3 separate regions of the Homo sapiens genome follow, and all the other regions are linked to region 3. The links are contacts of gene promoters, found by promoter capture Hi-C in human tissues and cell types (Jung and others, 2019). All regions are on one chromosome and are shown on one strand. The core of a region is centred on a gene start or on the middle of the fragment in contact, and the rest is flanking DNA. Distances in the headings are between cores, read along the strand shown.

What was found. Contacts are between HindIII fragments. The study calls those that stand out against the background at their distance.
Region 1: a contact is called between the fragment with the promoter of TINAGL1 here and the fragment with the promoter of TMEM39B in region 3, in 1 of the 25 tissues and cell types used here (spleen).
Region 2: a fragment that was not itself captured here is called in contact with the fragment with the promoter of TMEM39B in region 3 in 1 of the 25 tissues and cell types used here (spleen).

The regions. Positions count from the first base shown.
Region 1 is chr1:31,575,263-31,577,962 of GRCh38, reverse strand. TINAGL1 (tubulointerstitial nephritis antigen like 1) reads right to left here and starts at 1,448. Exons shown (of 12, transcript NM_022164.3): 1 at 1,368-1,448; 2 at 505-829. The coding sequence starts at 814. LOC105378626 (a long non-coding RNA gene) reads left to right here and starts at 66. Exons shown (of 6, transcript NR_188671.1): 1 at 66-119; 2 at 2,293-2,553. RefSeq lists an enhancer at 917-1,637. The HindIII fragment of the contact is 21,101 bases long and covers 1-2,700 here.
Region 2 is chr1:31,792,988-31,795,687 of GRCh38, reverse strand. It overlaps SPOCD1 (SPOC domain containing 1), which reads left to right. Exons shown (of 16, transcript NM_144569.7): 11 at 1,453-1,564; 12 at 1,791-1,941; 13 at 2,260-2,410. Among named protein-coding and RNA genes, the nearest start is that of SPOCD1, 22 kb to the left of the region's middle. The HindIII fragment of the contact is 6,745 bases long and covers 1-2,700 here.
Region 3 is chr1:32,071,576-32,074,275 of GRCh38, reverse strand. It overlaps TMEM39B (transmembrane protein 39B), which reads right to left and starts at 1,337. Exons shown (of 9, transcript NM_018056.4): 1 at 1,225-1,337. The coding sequence starts at 1,228. RefSeq lists an enhancer at 1,333-1,938. The HindIII fragment of the contact is 13,852 bases long and covers 1-2,700 here.

The DNA of each region.
Region 1 (2,700 bases), core at 199-2,698, 500 kb after region 3:
CCAAGCCCCATGGAACTGTGGGAAGGAACGCAAGTGATTCTCCTATTGGACAGGGGCAAGTGCATGGAAAAGGATGATGGTGAGGCTGAAAGCAGGAAAAGATTTGACCCATCTCCCAGGTATGAGCAGCCATCTCGGGGCACAGGATCCTAGAATCCTCAGCAAAGGCAGAAAAATGGCTAAGATGACCCTCACCAACCCATATGTGCCTTATCAGCCCAAGAGTGAGTCAGCAGGTGCGGCCAGCACCTTCCGTGTCTGGAAAAGAGACAGGATTGGGAGAAAATGTGGGAGGTTGCCCTTTCCCTGGGCCAAATTAGAATTCTAACCAAGGAGCTTCTTCAGTCTTGCTGGAGAGTAAAGTTCCCAGAGGGGCAGGGAAGAGTCCCAGATTCTACAGAGCTTCCCCTGGAAATGTCAGTGCATCCATCAGCTTTGCTCTTGAGCCTTGCTGAGTCTGAGGTGGACAAAGTGACCCACCCTCCTGGCCATCTTAGTGCCCACCTTGGATCGGGGGAAAAGGGGGTGGCACGCCGAGGCAGAAGTCCCAGAAGTCAGGGCAGCAGTCGGAGACCGTGCGGTTGCAGAAGAGGTCACAGTAACAGATGGCGCCCAGGTAGGGCAGGGCACAGTCGTCGGCACGGCCGCGGCAGCACAGGTCCTGCTCCTGGCAGTACCGGCCTCCCGCGTCCCGGATGCCCCGCAGGTGCAGACCCGGTGCTAGCTCCCGGCGCCCACGACCCTGCTGGGCACCCAGAGCCAAGTGGCCAGCCAGCGGCAGCAACAGCAGTAGCCCCAGTGGACATCGCCACATGGTGGCTCCTGGGCCCTGGGGGGCAGAGATGGTGGGCAGCAGAGACTCCCTGGAACACCAGGGATGAGTCTCCCAGTTTCCTGGAGCTGTGAGTTCAAGAGGGCCCAGCAGGGAGGGAGATCCCGATTCCTGAGTCCCCAGGCAGGACACGGGCAGAGGAGCCCCAGTGTGTGGGCCCTGGCTATAGGGGGATGGGGACTGGGCAGAAACGGAGCCCCTCCCTGACCTAGGCAGGGACCTTCAAGGACAAGGAAATGAGGGTGGTGGCATTCTTGGTGCTCCCACCCAACACTCATCCTGTGGACCCAAGGTCTTCTCTCCTGTCCTAGGTCTCTCTGCCCTCCAGCAGCCTCCATCCCTGACCTGGGTCCTTGACTTTGTGCTTTCCTGTCTCCCCCGGTCTTTTGGGTACACCTCTCTTCTGTTCCTGTGTCCCTCTGTCCCCCTCCACTGTCCCTCTCTCTGCCATCTGTCTTGGTTCCTCTACCTGCCCCCTCCCCCTGTTTCTTCTCTGTCTACACCTTCCGCCCTCTGAGCAGGGGAGCGTCCCTACCTGGTGAAGGTGTGGGCTGGGGCCCAGGCTGGCCCGCGCGCCTCCGCCTCCTGGCTCTGCGACCGCCGGACGCTCAAAGTCAAGAGAGGAGCGCGGGGCGGGGCGCTTTTTGTACCGCCCGCCCTCTGCACCGCCCCAGCAGTGGCGGAAGGGAGGGGCGCCTGGCTTGTACCTGGAGTAACTACCCCACAACTCATGGGCTTGCAGGGTGGAGAAACGACAAGCACACGATTGTCCTGGCTGGGTCTCCTGTGGCGGAAGCCGTTCCCTTAGGGGAACCCCAAGCAGGAAGGATTGCGGTTTCACACTGGGAAGGACTTCACAGTGGGCATCCCTGTGGAGCTGAGGGGCTCTGGTGGAGAAGGGGGGATATGGGCAGCCGAGCTCTGGGTTATGGACACAAGTTTGGGAAATGATGGGGAGGGCATGTGAGGCAAAATTCTGTAAGCCTCTCCTGACCCCTCGGTAATAAAAATAGCCATGCACACCCCTCTCCACTGTGCCCCCTAGGCTTGGGTGCCGCCCCCCTAGCCACCCCAGCTCCTAGGAATGATTGGAATTCCAGGAGTATGATCCTTAGGTGCCCTGGGCGGCTCATCCCTGGGAGGTGGGCAGGGTGTGGGGGTGGCCTCTGCACCCTTTGATCCCTTGTTGAGTCTGCCTTCCCTTGCCTGCTTGGGCCCCTAGACGAGCACTGCCCTCTCTAGCAAACCCAAGGGCATCCTGCTTGGCACCTGTCCCCCTCCAAGGGTCCAAAGGCAAGGGCCCTACCAGCTGGCACCCCCTGCAGAGGCCCTCCTTCCTGCCGCAGGCATAAACCTTTCTTTGCCCAGGCTGGCCTGGGACCCAAACAATGGGGCTTCTGTCCCGCCAGGTCTGCCGTCACCTTTTACCTCCCTATTGTGCAACGCCCTCTCTTCAACAGGTTGGGCCCAGGCCAGAGGTCTCTACCAGCAAAGAGGATAAAAGAGACTACACCTGGACAAACCCTCCCAGGCCCAGGCCTGAGCCTCACATGTGGCCCCGGGGAAGGCATCAGGGACTCCCTTTGCCCTCCCACTGACCTCCCTGCAAACCTCCCCCAAACCAAGGGGCATCCTCAGCTGGCCAGACCCTGGGGGAAGGGAGAGAGCCGAGGATCACCGGCACCTGTGGCTGGGTTACCCCTGCCATGGACCACTGGGTGGTGAGTCACCAAGGGGGTCCTGCCCTGGTGGTGGGGGTGGAGGGATAATATCCGGGGGCCCCAGCACTGGCACTAACACACCCAGGAGCTGCCCATCTGCTCCCTGCAGGGACCTGGGAGGACAAAGCCTAGGTGGGAAACTGAGGC
Region 2 (2,700 bases), core at 199-2,698, 280 kb after region 3:
AATATTCAGGCCAACGACTGGGAGAACCTCTACCTGTGCCAAGAGGATCCCTAAGGGGTGTGGCTGCTCCTCAGTCTAAATCAGTTTGTATTCCCTGAACAAACTGAATGGCAATGTAGGAGAAAGACCTAGATAGCCCCAGAGAGGAAGAGAGAGAGGAGGTGGGAGGGGAGGGGAGGGGAGGGGAAAATAACACATGATAGCTATCTTTACTGTTTATTGAACACCTACTGTGTGCACCTTTTACAAGCAGTGTCTCATTCACATCTCACAATGGCCTAGGAGGTTGGTGCTATTCCCTGCCCATTTCTGGGATGAGGAACCTGGCACCAAGGTCACATATGTGCAGTGGGGAAGCTGAGATTTGAACCCAGGCTGGCTGACTCCAAAGCCTGTGCTTTGAGACTGTTCTGGAGGTGGCTGATAAGAGTAGAGTTTCAAAATCTCTTTAAACCTTCCTAAAGCAATGATTGTTTTATGTTTAAAGCTATTTCTAGTATGAGGAAAAAAAGTGATTTGGCAATAGACGTCAAGAGTCTTTAAAATGTTCCTTCTCCCTGATTCTGTCATCTGCTTCTGAAATCTTGTCCTAAGGACATAATTTAAAGTTTAGGAAACTACTTTCTGCACAAAAAATGTCCTCAGTGCTATTTAGTAATAGTGAAAACCTGGAAATGACCCAAATGTATAGCAACAGAGGTGAGACGTCCACTCCAGTCTCACCCCATCACAGCAGTGTCTACGGGGACTATATGATGTGACAAATGCCTCTGCTATTATTAGTGAACAAAAAGAGAACACCAAGTTGAATATATGATCCCAGCTGTTTCAGGAAAAGGACCCCCAAACCCTGTGTATAGAAAAAGATTATAAAGGGCTGGGCACGGTGGCCCACACCTTTAATCCCAGCACTTTGGGAGGCCGAGGCGTGTGGATCATGAGGTCAAGAGATGGAGACCATCCTGGCCAACCAACATAGTAAAACCCCGTCTCTACTAAAAATACAAAAATTAGCTGGGCATAGTGGCACACGCCTATAGCTACTCAGGAGGCTGAGGCAGAAGAATCGCTTGAACCGGGGAGGTGGAGGTTGCAGTGAGCCGAGATCGAGCCACTGCACTCCAGCCCAGGCAACAGAGCAAGACTCTGTCTCAAAAAACAAACAAACAAACAAAAAAAAAAAAAAGAAAAGAAAAAAAAAGAAAAAGATTGTAAAGGAATACCCAGGATATCAACAGTGGTCTCTGAGTGGTGTGACAAGAAGTGATTTTCTTTTTAATTTTCAAGTTTTGGTGTTTTCCAAATTTTCTTTATGAGTTCACAGTATTTTGGTAATAAAACAACATTTATTATTGAGAAAAATAAACCACATCCTGGGGCCCCCTACCCATGGAGGCCTCCGGGCACCCCCAGCCACGTTTTCAGCCTGCCCCTCTGTCTTCTGCCTCCCAGGGACCGCAGATGTTCATGGACTGCAGCCCACAGGCCCTGCCCATCGCATCAGAGGACACCACGGGGCAGCATGACCACCACTTCTTAGACCCCAACTGCCACATCTGCAAGGGTGGGAGGGGACACGGGAGGGGTGCAGGGGTGGCAGCCAGGCTGGGGCTGAGCGTGCAGTTCAGCAGCAACAGGGATTTGTGGCCTGGGGAGAGGGTGGCAGAGCAGGGGTGCCCGTGCCCCAGGTCACCTAGAAAAGAACCTGGTTCAACCCTGGCTCTAAAGCCCTGGGCTGGCTTCAGCGCTGCTGCTGCCCCTGTTTCAGCTCCTGCCTCTGCTATTTGCAGACTGGGAGCCCTCGAATGAGCTGCTAGGCTCCTTCGAAGCCGCCAAGAGCTGCGGGGACAATATCTTCCAGAAAGCCCTAAGCCAAACTCCTATGCCTGCTCCAGAGATGCCCAAAACCAGGGAGTTGTCTCCCACGGAACCACAGGACAGGTGTGGGGTTGGGAGCAGGGAGGTGGATAACCCAGCAGGGTTGAGGGGGAGGCCACCACCTGGTGCAACAGACATAGCACTGGCTTTTCCTGTGTGGCCTTGGGCAAGTCTTCCCTCCCTTGGGAACCTCACTTTCCCCATCTGTGCAATGGAACTAATCATCCCAGCCTCCTGGCAGCCCCCTGCACAAGGCCAAGCTTGGGCCAGTGTTCCAGTCCCCACAGTAGGGACACAGGATCTGCTCTGAAAAGAAAGGAGGTGCCGGGGAAGTCCTCATGGCCTGCTCTGTCTGGCCCTGTCTTCTGTCCCTCCCTCTAGGGTCCCTCCATCTGGGCTCCATGTGCCTGCTGCACCCACAAAGGCCCTGCCCTGCCTGCCACCCTGGGAAGGTGTTCTGGACATGTTCTCCATCAAGCGGTTCCGGGCCAGGGCCCAGCTGGTCTCGGGACACAGCTGTCGGCTTGTCCAGGTGCACCTGCCCTCCTCGCCAGGGATTCCCTTACACACTGACCAGCCCAGGCAGCCTCTCTCTCTCTCTCTCTTTCACTCATGCATTCTAAAACAATTCATGGGCACCCCTTTCTGTGCCTGGCCCTGTGCAGGGCATGGGGGCAAATGAGATGTTGGTCCCATTCCTACAGAGACAAACAGGGTGAAGGACTCCCTGTCACCCATAGCAAGAAGGGCCCAAAGGAGGGTTTTAGGAGTGATCGTTGAGTGACTTAATGATCAGCTAAAGTGTCGGATGAGAGCAGAGGA
Region 3 (2,700 bases), core at 88-2,587:
AGCTTTTTCATCCAGGGCCCCATGATTCAGCTCAAAGGGCATTCTGGGATCTCATGGGCAGGACCCAGGGCCTAAATAAAGGGTCAAGGATATGGCTGGGAGAATCCTGTGGCTGTGGACTGAAAAATTGGACCTACTAGGCTGAGCAGTCTAGCCCAAGCTCCCACGCACCACTTCGCACAAAAGTTCTGCACAAAGCTCCTAAGCACCTAAAAAAGTCACAACCTGACTGGGTGTGGTGGCTCACGACTGTAATCTCAGCAATTTGTGAGGCCGAGGCGGGAGGATCGCTTGAGACCAGGAGTTGGAGACCAGCCTGGGCAACATGGCGAAACCCGGTCTCTATTAAAAAATATATATACATACATATACATATTTTTAAAAAGTTATAACCTGTTCATACCTCTTCACAGTAACACAGCAGCCTCCATTCACATACACCCCACGCCGTAGCATCTCAGCTCGGAAGCGTTTCCCACACTTCGGAGCCAATTTTGGGCTTGGATGTATGCCCAAAATTATAAACCTCCACAAGTCTCTAAAAAGTACCTGGCGAAGAGCTCTGCCCTCCATAAACCCCCAGACCAGAAGCTCTGTTCATACGCTGTTATACTTGGCTTAGAAAATCCCACACAAACACCCTTAGTCCAGTCCAGAAGCTCTGCCCACACCCACTCTCCTCTCTTTAGAAGCTCTGCACCCACATAAAGCCCCTCAGCCCAGAAGCTCCGCCTACACACAACTGTCAGCCCAGAAACCCCGCCCACAAGCCAATAAAAGCCCTCTCAGCCCAGAAGCCCCACTCCAGAATGGGCTCCCTCAGTCGGAAGTCTCCCCGCTCCACCGCCCCCAGTGTAACCCCTCCAACCCAGAAACGCCGACTGCACTAGCGCCCCCTGCCCAGAATCTCCACCCTTAGCGCTGAAGCCACGCCCACTGGTAAGTCCCGCCCCCCTTTCTAGCCCCGACGAGCTGGTCCTCACGAAAGCCCAAGCCCCCACAGGGCTTCGTCTTAGAAGCCCCGCCCACCGTCCAATGTCCCGCCCCCACAACAGAGGCCCCACCCCGCAAAACGACAGGAGGGGGCGGGATCCCGTCTGCGCTCGCATCCCCTCCCCCTCCCGTCACCGGGCTCCTGTCCGCGTGGAGCAGCAATTAGCAGCCTGGCCATCCTAACCCGTGCGCCCGCTCGTTGCCAGGCCGAGCCTGAGCCGCTCTGCTCACCCATCTCCTCCCCCCGGTGCTCTCCGCTTCGCCGCCGCAGCTCCTGCGGGCAATATGTCGGAGGCGACGGCGGCCGGGAGAGGACTAACCGCCGCAGCCCAGTCCCGGGTATCAGCCGCGCGCTCCCGCCGCGCCGCTACATTTGCATACAAGGCGGGCTGGAAGCTGGCGCGCGCTTCTTAAAGGGGCCGCCCGGACGGAGGCGGTGCCTGCGCGCTCTTTGTCTCTCGGTCCCCCACGCCCTTCCTGCAGCTGCTGGTGAAGAGACTCAAGAGGGAGGGGAACGGAACCCACCTCCTGCTCTTCCCGTGCGTGTCTTCTCTCAGCATCTCCTGGACCGGGGCGGCGGCGACCGGAGGAGGGTGCGGAGCCGCCTCTCCGCTCCCCTAGGGGTGGACCATATCCCTGACCGGTCCGCAGGCACCTCCAGCCCAGCCCCACGTTGCGCTTCATCCTTCTCTTAGGCCTCACTGCGCTTTAGTCCACCCCAGTCAAAATCCAGGAGTCATTTCCTCCCTCCCTCGGCCCCCACATCCGATCTTTGCCTTAGTCTTTGTGAGCCTAAGTCCTAAATATTTCTCACATTTGACGTTACTCACCGTTCTCATTGTCAACACCGTGGTTCAGATCCTGACTGCCATTTCCCAGCCTTGCAATCTTGTTTTTTTATGCTTTACGATGAGGCTGCTGATGGTCACCGTGTAGGTTTCGGTGAGGGTTAAATGAAATAGAGCATGCAGAACTGAGTCTGTTTTAGTATTAGCCATCACGATGTTTGGAGAAGCATTGACTAAATGAGCTACATTTATTGTCATTAGGATTCTTCCCTCACAAGACCTACAAGCAGTTTTAGTCATCTTGTAGCTCCATTGCTTAGCACAGTGCTTGGCACTTAATAGCAGTATTCAATTAATTGAATGAATTAGTAGATATTTCATTAATAGTCATAGAGCTTACAGTCAAGTGGGAGGAGATAGACATGAACAAAATTGGTAAATTCTGTAGTATGTTAGATGGGAATGGTGTGAAGGAAAAACAGGAAAGGGGGATGGGGTTGCAGTTTTAAATAGGGCAGGCAGAGCAGGCTTCAGAGTTGACTTGAGTAAACACATGAAGGAAATGAGTGAGTCAGTGGTGCAGATTTCTGGAGAAAGGGGGCATTTCAGGCAGAGGGAATAGTTAGTGCAAGGTCCCTCAGGCAGGAGGGTGTATTTATTTTATTATTTTGTTTTTTGAGGGGATGGAGTCTCTGTTGCCCAGGCTGGAGAGCAGTGGCTCGATCTCGGCTCACTGCAACCTCCACCTGCTGGGTGCAAGCGATTCTCCTGCCTCAGCCTCCCAACAAGCTGAAATTACAGGCGTGCACCACCATGCCCGGCTAATTTTTGTTTTTGTTTTGTTTTGTTTTTTTGAGACTGGAGTCTCCCTTTCTGTTGCCCAGGCTGGAGTGCAGTGGTACGATCTCGGCTCACTGCA